Linked DNA regions of Homo sapiens: regions 1, 2 and 4 are each linked to region 3. Evidence: promoter capture Hi-C in human tissues and cell types (Jung and others, 2019). All regions are on one chromosome and are shown on one strand. The core of a region is centred on a gene start or on the middle of the fragment in contact, and the rest is flanking DNA. Distances in the headings are between cores, read along the strand shown. Region 1 overlaps TANC2 (tetratricopeptide repeat, ankyrin repeat and coiled-coil containing 2). Region 2 overlaps TANC2 (tetratricopeptide repeat, ankyrin repeat and coiled-coil containing 2). Region 3 holds the start of MAP3K3 (mitogen-activated protein kinase kinase kinase 3). Region 4 has its middle 9.9 kb from the start of MARCHF10-AS1.

Region 1 (3,016 bases), core at 412-2,911, 530 kb before region 3:
TAGGCCAAACCCCATTGTTTCAGACATACATGAAAGACCTTTGAGAAATTATGCATTGTTATTGTGTGTATTATGTTTAACATGCCTACAGTCGTTTTAGGGACCAGACTACCACCTGTGCTGTTATTTTAAAAGTGTACTTTGGAGATAAAATATCCAATTAGAAAAGTTCACAAATCATAAGTGTACAGTGAGTATGTTATTACAAATTAGGTTTTTTAAAAGTCAGGTTTATTTAATTTATATAAGTAAAATTTGCCATTTTAAGTGTACATACCATGAATTTTTAAAACATATATAGTCATGTTAAATACCACTAAATCAAATATAGCTTATTTCCATAAAAAGTTCCCTCATGCCCCCTTGTAATTAGTTGTCTCCCTCAACCTAATCCCTAGCAACGACTTAAGTGTTTTCTAATACTATAGTATTTCCCAGAATATTCTGTAAATGAAGCCATGTAGTATATAGTCTTTTGACCGTATTACTGACTTTTTTTTTTGAGTTTTTTTTTTTTTGTACTTTAAGTTCTAGGGTACATGTGCACAATGTGCAGGTTTGTTACATATGTATACGTGTGCCATGTTGGTGTGCTGCACCCATTAACTCATCATTTACATTAGGTACATCTCCTAGTGCCATCCCTCCCCACTTTCCCCACCCCACAACAGGCCCCGGTGTGTGATGTTCCCCTTCCTGTGTCCATGTGTTCTCATTGTTCAGTTCCCACCTATGAGTGAGAACGTGTGGTATTTGCTGTCCTTGCAATAGTTTGCTCAGAATGATGGTTTCCGGCTTCATCCATGTCCCTACAAAGGACACGAACTCATCCTTTTTCATGGCTGCATAGTATTCCCTGGTGTATATGTGCCACGTTTTCTTAATCCAGTCTATCATTGATGGACATTTGGGTTGGTTCCAAGTCTTTGCTATTGTGAATAGTGCTGCAATAAACATACGTGCGCATGTGTCTTTATAGCAGCATGATTTATAATCCTTTGGGTATATAGCCAGTAATGGGATGGCTGGGTCAAATGGTATTTCTACTTCTAGATCCTTGAGGAATCACCACACTGTCTTCCACAGTGGTTGAACTAGTTTACAGTCACACCAACAGTGTAAAAGTGTTCCTATTTCTCCACATCCTCTCCAGCACCTGTTGTTTCCTGACTTTTTAATGATTGCCATTCTAACTGGTGTGAGATGGTATCTCATTGTGGTTTTGATTTGCATTTCTCTGATGACCAGTGATGAAGAACATTTTTTCATGTGTCTGTTGGCTGCATAAATGTCTTCTTTTGAGAAGTGTCTGTTCATATCCTTTGCCCACTTGTTGATGGGGTTGTTTGTTTTTTTTTTTTGTAAATTTGTTTAAGTTCTTTGTAGATTCTGGATATTAGCCCTTTGTCAGATGAGTAGATTGCAAAAATTTTCTCCCATTCTGTAGGTTGCCTGTTCACTCTGATAGTGGTTTCTTTTGCTGTGCAGAAGCTCCTTAGTTTAATTAGATCTCATTTGTCAATTTTGGCTTTTGTTGCCATTGCTTTTGGTGTTTTAGACATGAAGTCCTTGACCATGCCTGTGTCCTGAATGGTATTGCCTAGGTTTTCTTCTAGGGTTTTTATGGTTTTAGGTCTTACATTTAAGTCTTTAATCCATCTTGAATTAATTTTTGTATAAGGTGAAAGGAAGGGATCCAGTTTCAGCTTTCTACATATGGCTAGCCAGTTTTCCCAGCCCCATTTATTAAATAGGGAATCCTTCCCCCATTTCTTGTTTTTCTCAGGTTTGTCAAAGATCAGATGGTTGTAGATGTGTGGTATTATTTCTGAGGGCTCTGTTCTGTTCCATTGGTCGATACCTCTGTTTTGGTACCAGTACCATGCTGTTTTGGTTACTGTAGCCTTGTAGTATAGTTTGAAGTCAGGTAGCATGATGCCTCCAGCTTTGTTCTTTTGGCTTAGGATTGTCTTAGAAATGCGGGCCCCTTTTTTGGTTCCATATGAACTTTAAAGTAGTTTTTTCCAATTCTGTGAAGAAAATCATTGGTAGCTTGATGGGGATGGCATTGAATCTATAAATTACCTTGGGCAGTATGGCCATTTTCACAATATTGATTCTTCCTATCCATGAGCATGGAATGTTCTTCCATTTGTTTGTGTCCTCTTTTATTTCGTTGAGCAGTGGTTTGTAGTTCTCCTTGAAGAGCTCCTTCATATCCCTTGTAAGTTGGATTCCTAGGTATTTTATTCTCTTTGTAGCAATTGTGAATGGGAGTTCACTCATGATTTGGCTCTCTGTTTGTCTGTTATTGGTGTATAAGAACATATTACCCATTTTTAATTTTTGTGCACACATCAGAAGTTCATTCTTTTTATTGCTGAGTAAGATTCTGTTGCATGTATATGTCACAATTTGTTCATTCATCAGTTGATGGACATTTGGGTACTTTTCAGTTTGTGGAGAGTAATAATTTTTCTATTTGTGTGTGGGAGGAGGGACATATATCTTCATTTCTTTTGGGTAAATTCCTAGGAGCTGGATTTCTGGGTCATATGGTAGGTTTACTTACAAACTGCCAAACTGTTTCCCAACTTATATATACCAGTTGATATTGTCACCAGCAGTATATGAGAGCTGTAGTTCATTCTTGTCAGCACTCGGTTTTGCTGGTATTTTTTTTTTTTAGCCATTTTACTAGGTGTGTAGTAGTAACTCCTAGTTTGAATTACTGTAATGATTAATGATGTTGAGCATCTGTATTAGGCCATTCTTGCATTGCTATAAAGAAATACCTGAGACTGGGTAGTATATAAAGAAAAGAGGTTTAATTGGCTCACAATTCTGGAAGCTGTACAGGAATCATGGTGCTGGCATCTGCTTGGCTTCTAGGGAAGCTTTAGGGAACTTTCAATCATAGTGGAAGGTGGATGGGGAAGCCACCTTCTCACATGGCGGGAGCAGGAGCAAGGGGTGGAGGGAGGTGATACATACTTTTAAATGACCATATCTCATG
Region 2 (2,929 bases), core at 164-2,663, 550 kb before region 3:
TTTTAATTTCAACAGAGGCAGATCAGCCATTCAGAGATGATAATCCATGAGTAGATTTTTGCTTTAATTTTTAAAAATAATGTCAAAGAAAAATTTCTTATATTTGTCTTTCAGATAACACCTTATTTTGTCAACATGTCTATTTTTATTCAAATGTGGTAACTTATATAGTAACAGCAGAACTAAAATAAACTGATTTATATTTAAAAAGTATTTTCATACTGGAGGAAAAAATATGGTTGCCTATCACTTTGAGTATCTTTCTATGTGATAAGTTATTTTACAAATCTGACTAAATTAGTGGAGTGTTTTACTAGATTACTGTGGACTAAGAGATATGAATATTTCCTGGCAATGTACTTATTATTTTGTATTGTCGTCGTATATTTGGAATCGATTGATTAAATGTTACTGTACTTGCTAGTTTAACAGCCCTCTACAAAATAGAGAATAGTTGATATATATACATGAATTGGATTTAATTATTGCTAGGCCTTACATATAATAAATATACTTAAAAGGAAGCTTTATATCAATAATGAATTAAAAAACAGGCCATTCTGTTTAAAAAGCAATAGATGTTACTACACGAGCTCTATTAAAAACAATAAACCATAGAATAAGTAGATGACAGAGCAAGAATACTCTTTATTAAACCTGCTTGCAGCTACTACCCCTTTTCCCTGTCAAGTTAAAAATAAGACAAGTGATTGTATGAAAGAACGAACAAAGGAAATTGTTTGATGCCTTAATGCATTTTTCATCTGATTAAAGTGATAACAAATTTATAGGTGTATAGACCACTATGTTAAAGATTTTGCTTGGTTTAGTTTCATATTTTATATTATACTTTACATTCTTAATATATTAATTTCTGTTTTACTGTGCCTATTTTAATGAATTTATGATGCATAATTTTTCTGTTTCTATATAACAAAATTGAGGCAATTATTTACAATAAAGTAAAATTTGTTTTAGCTTTTCTTAACATGCATGAGGGAATATACTGTTTTGGTTATTTCTTAAAAGAAGATGTATACAATGAAATGGATTTGTTTCTATATAATTTTAAAAATCATGGTAAAATAAACTCAAGATTTATTTGGTTTTTAGCTTTTATTGATTTATTTTATAGGTTTATTGATTTTTATTTCATAAAACATACGAATGTAATTCTTATTATAGTAAAACAGTACTAGGGATTATTTGATGTGCTGTTGTACTTTAGACAGAAAAAGCAGCTGTAATTAATTTAAAAGATTGTTTTAAATCAGGCCTTCTTAACTGGAATTCTGTGACTGAACTTTGGTGTTGATAACTTTCCTTCATTATATGCAAAGTAGAGTATATACATATGGGGGAGGGGAAAAACACCTACACTTTCTTAAGACTTCAAGAGGGGAGTGTAAACCCACAAAAATCAGGGTAAGAACCATTGGTTTATATAAGAAAAATCCTCAAATATTTTAATGATCCGGATTATAGGAAATACAAATAAATGATCGATATAGTAGTTTTAAATGTAGATAATGTCAGAGACACTGTTATGTCAATCTCATTATCTATTTGCTTATGCTCCTTTTAATTTTATGCAGATGGAGGGAGCGAGGAACCACCGGATCGAAGACAGTCAAGTGTAGACTCTCGCCAAAGCCGCTCTGGGCAAGGTAAATTTTCATCAGATTGATTATTAAATTTCAAAAAATAACGATAGATATTTCTTTCTAGTACTTAATTTGGAGACTAGGATATTGCCATGGTATAGTTTAGATATTCTAGTTTCTCATTTAGGATTTAAATGATATGATGTAAAAATCTATATATTATTTATTCAAGATATATGAAAATTAAATATTGTCTTGTGCCTGTTTTTTTAAATGATATTAACTTTTAAGTAATTTTGAAGCATTATGGTATATATCTGGATATCACTTTTGGAATGGATCCAAAAGTGAATTTTCAACACCAACATTTGTTGGAGTATCATCACACACTGGCTTTTTAAATTTCATCAATATAGTATTTGTTGTCTTAGCTGTCTCAGAAGAAATGGTTTTTGTTGGTAATTGCTATATTAGGATCTTCCTACTTATTTTTCTTTTCTATTTAAAATTTATTATCATAGGCCTTTGATTAATTTTTGAAGGGACAACTTCAAAACTAGGTAAAAACATTCTGAGTCAGTGAAATACCCAGTTAGACCTTTTCTAACTTATTTAACATTGCATGACCACCAGCTCTCTATTCCTTTTTCTTTATAGTACTTACCACCTTCCTATTTATTCTGTTTATTTTCTCTGTTCAAAACTAGAATGGATGTTGCGTGATAGCAGTGATTTTTATGCTTTGTTCACTGCTGTATCCTTATGTGCCAATAATAAGTACATAGTATATAGTAGTCACTAAATAAATGGTGAATGAATGATCTGAAAGAGAATGAGTTGAGAACCCAAAATGATGAAAAATAGATTATAAAATTTCAGACAATCATTTATTGAGTTTGGTTTTCAAAGAATCTTTAATAGCATAAAATAAAATAAAGCTGAGATTTACAGATGTGCAGTTTTTAATCCTGTAAAAGCTTCAGATTTATTTATTCTATAATCGTGTCCCTCTTTTTCTCCAAGTTTGCTCTTCCCAGTTTTTAGAGCTGTACTATTTTTATAAAACTGTTTGTTGCAGATTAAAAAGAGGAATAATATGAGTTGAAAATTTTAACTTATGCTAATACTTAATCATACTTAAGTAATAAGCATGTATTATGACTATGTCTGGAATTTATCTTATTCACTCTTATTTTCCCTGTAAACATATTTTGATATAAAAATGAGATTATGTAAAACTCTAAAAATAAAATTAGTACAAATTACTACTAAAATTGTAATTATTAAATGTCAAATTTTATTAAGTATCAAATATAGATGTTTGA
Region 3 (2,823 bases), core at 181-2,680:
CAGTGTGAGACTCCATCTCGAAAAATAAAAAAGAAAAAGAAAAGAAATAGGGGAGAGCCCAAGGTAATTCTTAAGGGATTTGACACTCAAGGCAAAGCCACCACTAAATGTTCTTAGTGGACAGTGGACAATGACATCTGAGGAAGATTATTCTGGAGCCTGACATATTACACTGGAACAGAGGCCGGAGAAAGGAGCCCACATTAATTGTGGTGGACTTGGAATCTGAAGATCTGAGTGTATAAAATGTTGAACAATGAAAAGGTTGGGGAAATTAATTATGGTGCCTTTAATTTTGAAACATCATGCAATCAGTACAATTGTTTTGGAAGGATATTTGGTGGCACGGGAAAACAGAATAAAATGTAAGCATACTACAAAACAATACAAAGCCATTTTTGTCAAACGCCTATCTAGGTAGGAAATAGATTATCTCTGGGGTGGGATCTTTTCTTTTTCATAGTTTTCTGCATTTTTCAATTTTCCTACAAAAAGCTCGTGTTGCTTTTATAAGAAAAAAGTTATTTTCTGAAAGAACCTCTGGCGGAACTCAGATTTCCAGGGACCCACATGCCAGCACTATCCCAGCCTCGGGTGTCTGAGGTACCTAGACCAGAGGGTGTGGCCCTGGAGGTGTGAGACAGGGAAAGCTGGGCTGGGCCGGCCGCCCCTGCCCGGGGCAAGAGCAGCGTCGGGACCGGAGGACCAGTCGGGGGATGGGGCCGCAGAGGTGGCCGCGCGCCGGGAAGTGCTCAGGCCAGACCCTCCCCACTCGTTACACGCCCTGTGCTGGGCACGGGGAGGAGCAGGACGCCACCCTCTGGAACCACCCAGATCGCTGGGGCCTCCGAGAACCCGGAGGGCGGAAGGCCTGAGGGCCCCCTGCAGCCGCCTACTCCTCACCCCAGCCCTAAAGTAGCCGGCGGGGAACTGCGCCAGCCCGCGCGCCCGCCGAGCCTTCGGTGACTGACGGGAGGTGGGAATGTGGGCGGAGCCTCACGCCGGAGCTGTGATTGGAACAACCAACACCTCCCAATCTCTCCCAAGAGAGGGAGACAGCACCAGAGAGGGATGCGCAGAGGCGGGGGCTTAGAGGCCTCTACGTGATTGGCTAACAGCGCAGGGAGCCGGGCGCTGTCCCGATGATTGGCAGGCGCTAGACAGCCCTCGGAAACCGCCTTGGCTTCGCCCATTGGCATCCTGTGAGAGTAGGCGGGATTGGTTCATCGTGTGGTGCTGATGATTAGCTGGCCGCTGAGAGTTAGGGTGTTGGGAGAGAGTTGGAGGGGGACGGCGGGGGCTGCCGACTTCCTTCTTGTTATTGGCTGGTGAGGTGGGTGGGGGTGGTGCGACGGCCCAGCGGCTGCCTGGGATTGGTGGGGGCCGGCGTGAGTGACAGACAGGGGGGCGAGCTGCGCGACCAGCGGTTTGTTTTTCGGAGCGTTCCTGAGGTGGAGAACGGTGGCCGGACGGAGAGACTGCGGGTCTGAGGGACTGGCGGGCGGGCGGGCCGAGCGGCGCCGCCGAGGCCGGGCTGGGCCGAGCCCAGGAGCGCCCGGGATGTAGCGGGCCACCCTGCCGATGCCACAGCGCCCGGCCGCGGGCGGAGCCGGAGCCGGAGCCTGGGGAGGCGGCGGGGGCCCAGAGCGCAGCCCGCGCCCCCCGCGCGGAGCCAGGCCCGCTGCCGTCCCCGCCGCCCGGGCCCCCGGCATGCAGCCCCGGCTGCGGAGGTGACACTCACGGACCTTAGCCACCGCCGCCGCCATCGCCACCATGGGTAAGTGTCGCCACCGCCCCGGCCTGTGCCCGCGCTGCTTCGCGACGCCCCGCCCCAGGCTGAGGGAGGAGGACCCTGGGCCACCGCCTGACAGGCATGGACAGCCCGCCCGGCCCGGGGCTGCGGACCGCCGGCCGGCCGGCCGCCCGCCCCGCTCGCGCGCCGCGGCCCGGGCGGGGGTTCTGGCTCCGCGGGGCGGCCCGGCCGGCAGAGCCCGCTCGGCAGCCCTCCTTCTGGGCGGCGCGGCGGGCGCATCCCGGGGAAGCGGCGGCGGGACCGAGGGCCCGTGCTCCGCGGGGCAGCCTGGTCCGAACGAGCCGGACCGCGAGCCCGAGGGCGGGGGAGCAAGAGCGCAGTGTGGGGCCCGGGCTGGAGGCTGCCGCAGGCCCAGCTGCTGTTGTGTCTTTTCCTTGATTTGCTTTTTTTTCCTGCCTGTGTCATTTCCTTCCCTTTGCTCACACAGGCCGGCCTGTGAGAGTTCCCGGGGCTTGCTCTCCAGCCCTGTGCGCGCCCCAGCGCAGGGGGGAGGGCGTGCGGGGCTCGGCTAGGAGGCGATTAAACTGGAGCTGTGATCAAGCGCGCGGTTGACAAATGCGTGCTGCACGCAGATTGCTGGGGGTCAGGAGTTGGTCGGATGCTGCCAGTTAGAATTCACATCCTACTTTTTGAAAAATCCCGTTGCAGGGGTTTAATCCATTATTTTTTTCTTGCGGTATCCCTGAAATTATGTAACTTTTGAAAGAAACATTTGCTACACAAAAGAATTTCTCTGAAATCACTTCCTTTTTGTCAGTATTTACAATTTCTACTGTGAAGATGTAATCTAAGGAAAGCTTTTAATGTCTTCCGCACGTAGCATTTGAGTTGAATTATATTCCATATCCTTTTTGGTAGTTTAGCAAATGACTACTGGACTAGACTAAGAAATAACATTTTAAACGTTCTTTACTTCTCCTGCCCAGACAGGTGTTGTGATACTGTTGTCACAAGTTTTGCAAAATATTTGGTATTGCCCTAAATAATAATAAAAGGGTAAACTTCAGTGA
Region 4 (3,283 bases), core at 657-3,156, 930 kb before region 3:
ATGGGAAACGGGGGAGTGAAAGCAGGAAGGCTGGTGCGGAAGCTCTTGTAATAATTCAGGCACAACAAGACGGTGGTTTGTTGGGATCAGGACTGCAGTAGTGGTCAGATTCTGTGTGTGTGTGTGTGTGTGTGTGTGTGTGTGTGCGCGCGCGTGCGTGTGTGTGTGTTTTGCCCTGTTCATGATATTTAAAATAAGTTTCCACTTTTATGAATAGACAATGCAGTCACGCAGTCTGCATTGCGTGGGATACCTAAATGATATCCCAAGATAGATGTTGCGCAAGTCCTGCCCCTGCCCGTCGCCCTCCAGCCTATACCCTCCTGCCCTGTCAGTTTCCTGTCTTTCCAGTGTTTCTTTGTGAAAGCAAATGAACGCCAGATTGGACTGAAGGGATGGCGGATGCCCTTGCTGGGGATGGGATCTGCCTGGGGAAAGGCAGTGGGAGTCAGGAAGCACTCCAAGCTTCCCGCCTGGACTGCAGGGTGAATGGGGTGCTGTTTCCTGAGACAGGAGCCCTAGGGAGAGCCCATGAGCTGCTGGCCTGAGTCCAGGACTACGGTGGAGCCCAGGGGACCCCCTCCAGCAATCCTCTCTGTGCCGCCCCAGCAACAGCAGGACCCATGGAAGGCGCCTAATCACTCAGGGGAGGGAGTCCCAGTCCTGTGGGAGGTTCACCCTGGAGTGAGTTGCTATCTAGCCCTGCAGCCCAAACAGCTCCCTTTGTGAGTTAAGTGCCCTGCCACTGCCCACAGTGAGAGGTGAAGCCAGCTGGACTTCCTAGGTTGAGTGGGGACTTGGAGAACTTTTCTTACAAGAGGTTTGTAAAATCAGTGCTCTGTAAAAATGCACCAATTGGTGCTCTGTAGCTAGCTAGAGGTTTGTAAAATGCACCAATCAGTGCTCTGTAAAAATGCACTAATCAGCACTCTGTACCTGGCTAGAGGTTTGTAAAATGGACCAATCAGCACTCTGTAAAATGGACCAATCAGCAGGACATGGGCGGGGACAAATAAGGGAATAAAAGCTGTGTCCTCCCCACCCACCCCACCCCTAGCAGCAACCCGCTCAGGTCCTCTTCCATACTGTGGAAGCTTTGTTCTTTCACTCTTCACAATAAATCTTGCTGCTGCTCCTCACTCTTTGGGTCCGTGCCACTTTTAAGAGCTGTAACACTAGGCCAGGCATGGTGGCTCACGCCTGTAATCCCAGCACTTTGGGAGGCCGAGACAGGCAGATCATGAGGTCAGGAGATCAAGACTATCCTGGCTAACATGGTGAAACCCCATCTCTATTAAAAATACAAAAAATTAACTGGGCGTGGTGACAGGCGTCTGTAGTCCCAGCTACTCGGGAGGCTGAGGCAGGAGAATGGCGTGAACCCAGGAGGCGGAGCTTGCAGTGAGCCGAGATTGTGCCACTGCACTCCAGCCTGGGCGACAGAGCGAGACTCTGTCTCAAAAACAAAAAAAAAGAGCTGTAACACTCACCGTGAAGGTCCGAGGCTTCATTCTTGAGGTCAGTGAGACCACGAACCCACTGGAAGGAACCAACTCCAGACACAACACCACAAGAAACATTGGGGGAGAGGCCCCCCAAGACCCTAGTGACTCTAACCTCGGGAGAGAAGAAAGGTCAAGGAGTGAGGTCCGGATCACTAGCTTGAGGGGTGGGAGGGAGCAGCGGAGGGACGGAGGACCCCAGTGGCCAGAGCTGCCCTCGTCAGTGGCTGGTGCCTGCTCTCCTCACGTCTCTCTGCCTTGCTCAGGTGACGAGTCTCCCCAGGGCCCTGCACCCACCTGCAAGCATTTCAGACAGCGTCACGGGTGCCTGGAGGCTACCCCTAGACCTCGTTCTAAGCCTGCCCAGAGATGACTAAGGGAGGCTCCTGCATCTCTCTGAAGGGGCAGGAGGCAGGCTCTGGATGCCGGCCACTCACCCTCTGGCTCAGGATAGCCCTGGTGGCAGTCTCCTTCCTTTCTGCTCATTTCATTTCAATACATCAAGTACCTCCTCTACATACCAGGCTCTTTGCTGGGTGGCAGATGCCCCCAAGCCTATCCTGGCAGGCCTGGGCAATCAGCACTGTATGCCAGGCGCTAGGCCCAGCCTTCACTTGCAGGGTTAACCCGCCCCGCTCTGGCCACCTGGATCCGTGAATGAATGGGAGAATGCGGCTGCTCTCCAGAGAACAGCATTCTCTCAACCGCTTCTTGTCGCGCCAGAGATGGCCTCCTCGAAGGTGTGCTGGCAGAGCTGGCCTGGCCCAGTGGGCAGCCCTGTGAGGCCGCAGGGGTGAGGAGCCGCCAGCCACACCACATGGCTCTCCTGGAACGGAGCCACCTGAGCCCGGCCAAGCCGCCTCGAGCACCAGGGCTTGAGTCCATTGCAGGCACAAGGCAAAGAATTGCGACTTGAGGGAGGACCCGGAGGAAGGCAGGCTGGAGGGAGGGAGGGCGGGCAAAGGACAGCAGGGAAATGAAGGGGGCTGTGAAAGACCAGCACCAGATGAAAGTACCGAGATGTTCCGGACAGGCCTGATTTTCTTTATCTTCGGGGCTGGGACTGCCAAGAGGCCCCGGGGAAAGCCTGCAGGCTTCACTCCCACCAGAACCAGCACCATTTGAGGGACAGATTTCAATCCTTCCTTGGCCAGACAAGCAGGCGGGATGCCAGCGCTGGAGAAAGGGGAGGAGGAGGAGCGGTGGGCAGGCCTTTCCTGCTGGAGGTGGACACGCTGGGGGCGCTGAGGTTCAAGGCCACACAGTGAGGAGTGCAGAACCTTAACTGTCTCCTTGCATCGGCTGATGGCAGAGCTTTAGTTATAGCCATTTCAGGGAAATCCTGGTCAGTTAAGGTTTTCTAGTGCAGTTGGGATTTTCGCCTATATTTCCAGGTGCCTCTAAGGTCCTATGGAGCGTCCAGGTTTCACAGCTGGGGGAGGGACATCTGGTTCCCGGTCATTTATGTCCCCGCTGGCTTATGCAGGGGTGTCCTGCCCTTCTGCATCTCCCTCAGGGACTTGGGGAACCTTGGATGGTGTCTTTCCTCATACTGGGGCTGCAGGGGGCTCAGAACACTGCCTCTGACCCACTATTCCTCCATGACAATGATAATAACAAAATAGGTATTATTTACTATGTACACGCCCTGTTCTAACTGCTTAACACGTATTAACTCACTTAATCTTCCCAATACAACATAAGGTAGGTGCTACTGTCCCCCTCTTACAGATGAGAAAGCTAAGGCACAAAGGTGAAGAACTTGCCATGCCACCTCTCCT

The links. The method cuts DNA at HindIII sites, captures the fragments that hold promoters and counts their contacts. A contact is called where the count stands out against the background at its distance.
Region 1: a fragment that was not itself captured here is called in contact with the fragment with the promoter of MAP3K3 in region 3 in 1 of the 25 tissues and cell types used here (hippocampus).
Region 2: a fragment that was not itself captured here is called in contact with the fragment with the promoter of MAP3K3 in region 3 in 1 of the 25 tissues and cell types used here (hippocampus).
Region 4: a contact is called between a fragment that was not itself captured here and the fragment with the promoter of MAP3K3 in region 3, in 1 of the 25 tissues and cell types used here (dorsolateral prefrontal cortex).

Annotation. Positions count from the first base shown.
Region 1 is chr17:63,089,711-63,092,726 of GRCh38, forward strand. The region is part of intron 3 of TANC2 (tetratricopeptide repeat, ankyrin repeat and coiled-coil containing 2); the gene reads left to right. Among named protein-coding and RNA genes, the nearest start is that of TANC2, 120 kb to the left of the region's middle. The HindIII fragment of the contact is 7,427 bases long and covers 1-3,016 here.
Region 2 is chr17:63,072,348-63,075,276 of GRCh38, forward strand. It overlaps TANC2 (tetratricopeptide repeat, ankyrin repeat and coiled-coil containing 2), which reads left to right. Exons shown (of 28, transcript NM_001394998.1): 3 at 1,596-1,667. Among named protein-coding and RNA genes, the nearest start is that of TANC2, 110 kb to the left of the region's middle. The HindIII fragment of the contact is 3,473 bases long and covers 1-2,929 here.
Region 3 is chr17:63,620,987-63,623,809 of GRCh38, forward strand. It overlaps MAP3K3 (mitogen-activated protein kinase kinase kinase 3), which reads left to right and starts at 1,431. Exons shown (of 16, transcript NM_002401.5): 1 at 1,431-1,777. The coding sequence starts at 1,774. RefSeq lists silencers at 672-741, 1,352-1,741, 1,832-1,891, 2,132-2,181. The HindIII fragment of the contact is 13,015 bases long and covers 1-2,823 here.
Region 4 is chr17:62,694,618-62,697,900 of GRCh38, forward strand. No RefSeq gene overlaps it. Among named protein-coding and RNA genes, the nearest start is that of MARCHF10-AS1, 9.9 kb to the right of the region's middle. The HindIII fragment of the contact is 8,069 bases long and covers 1-3,283 here.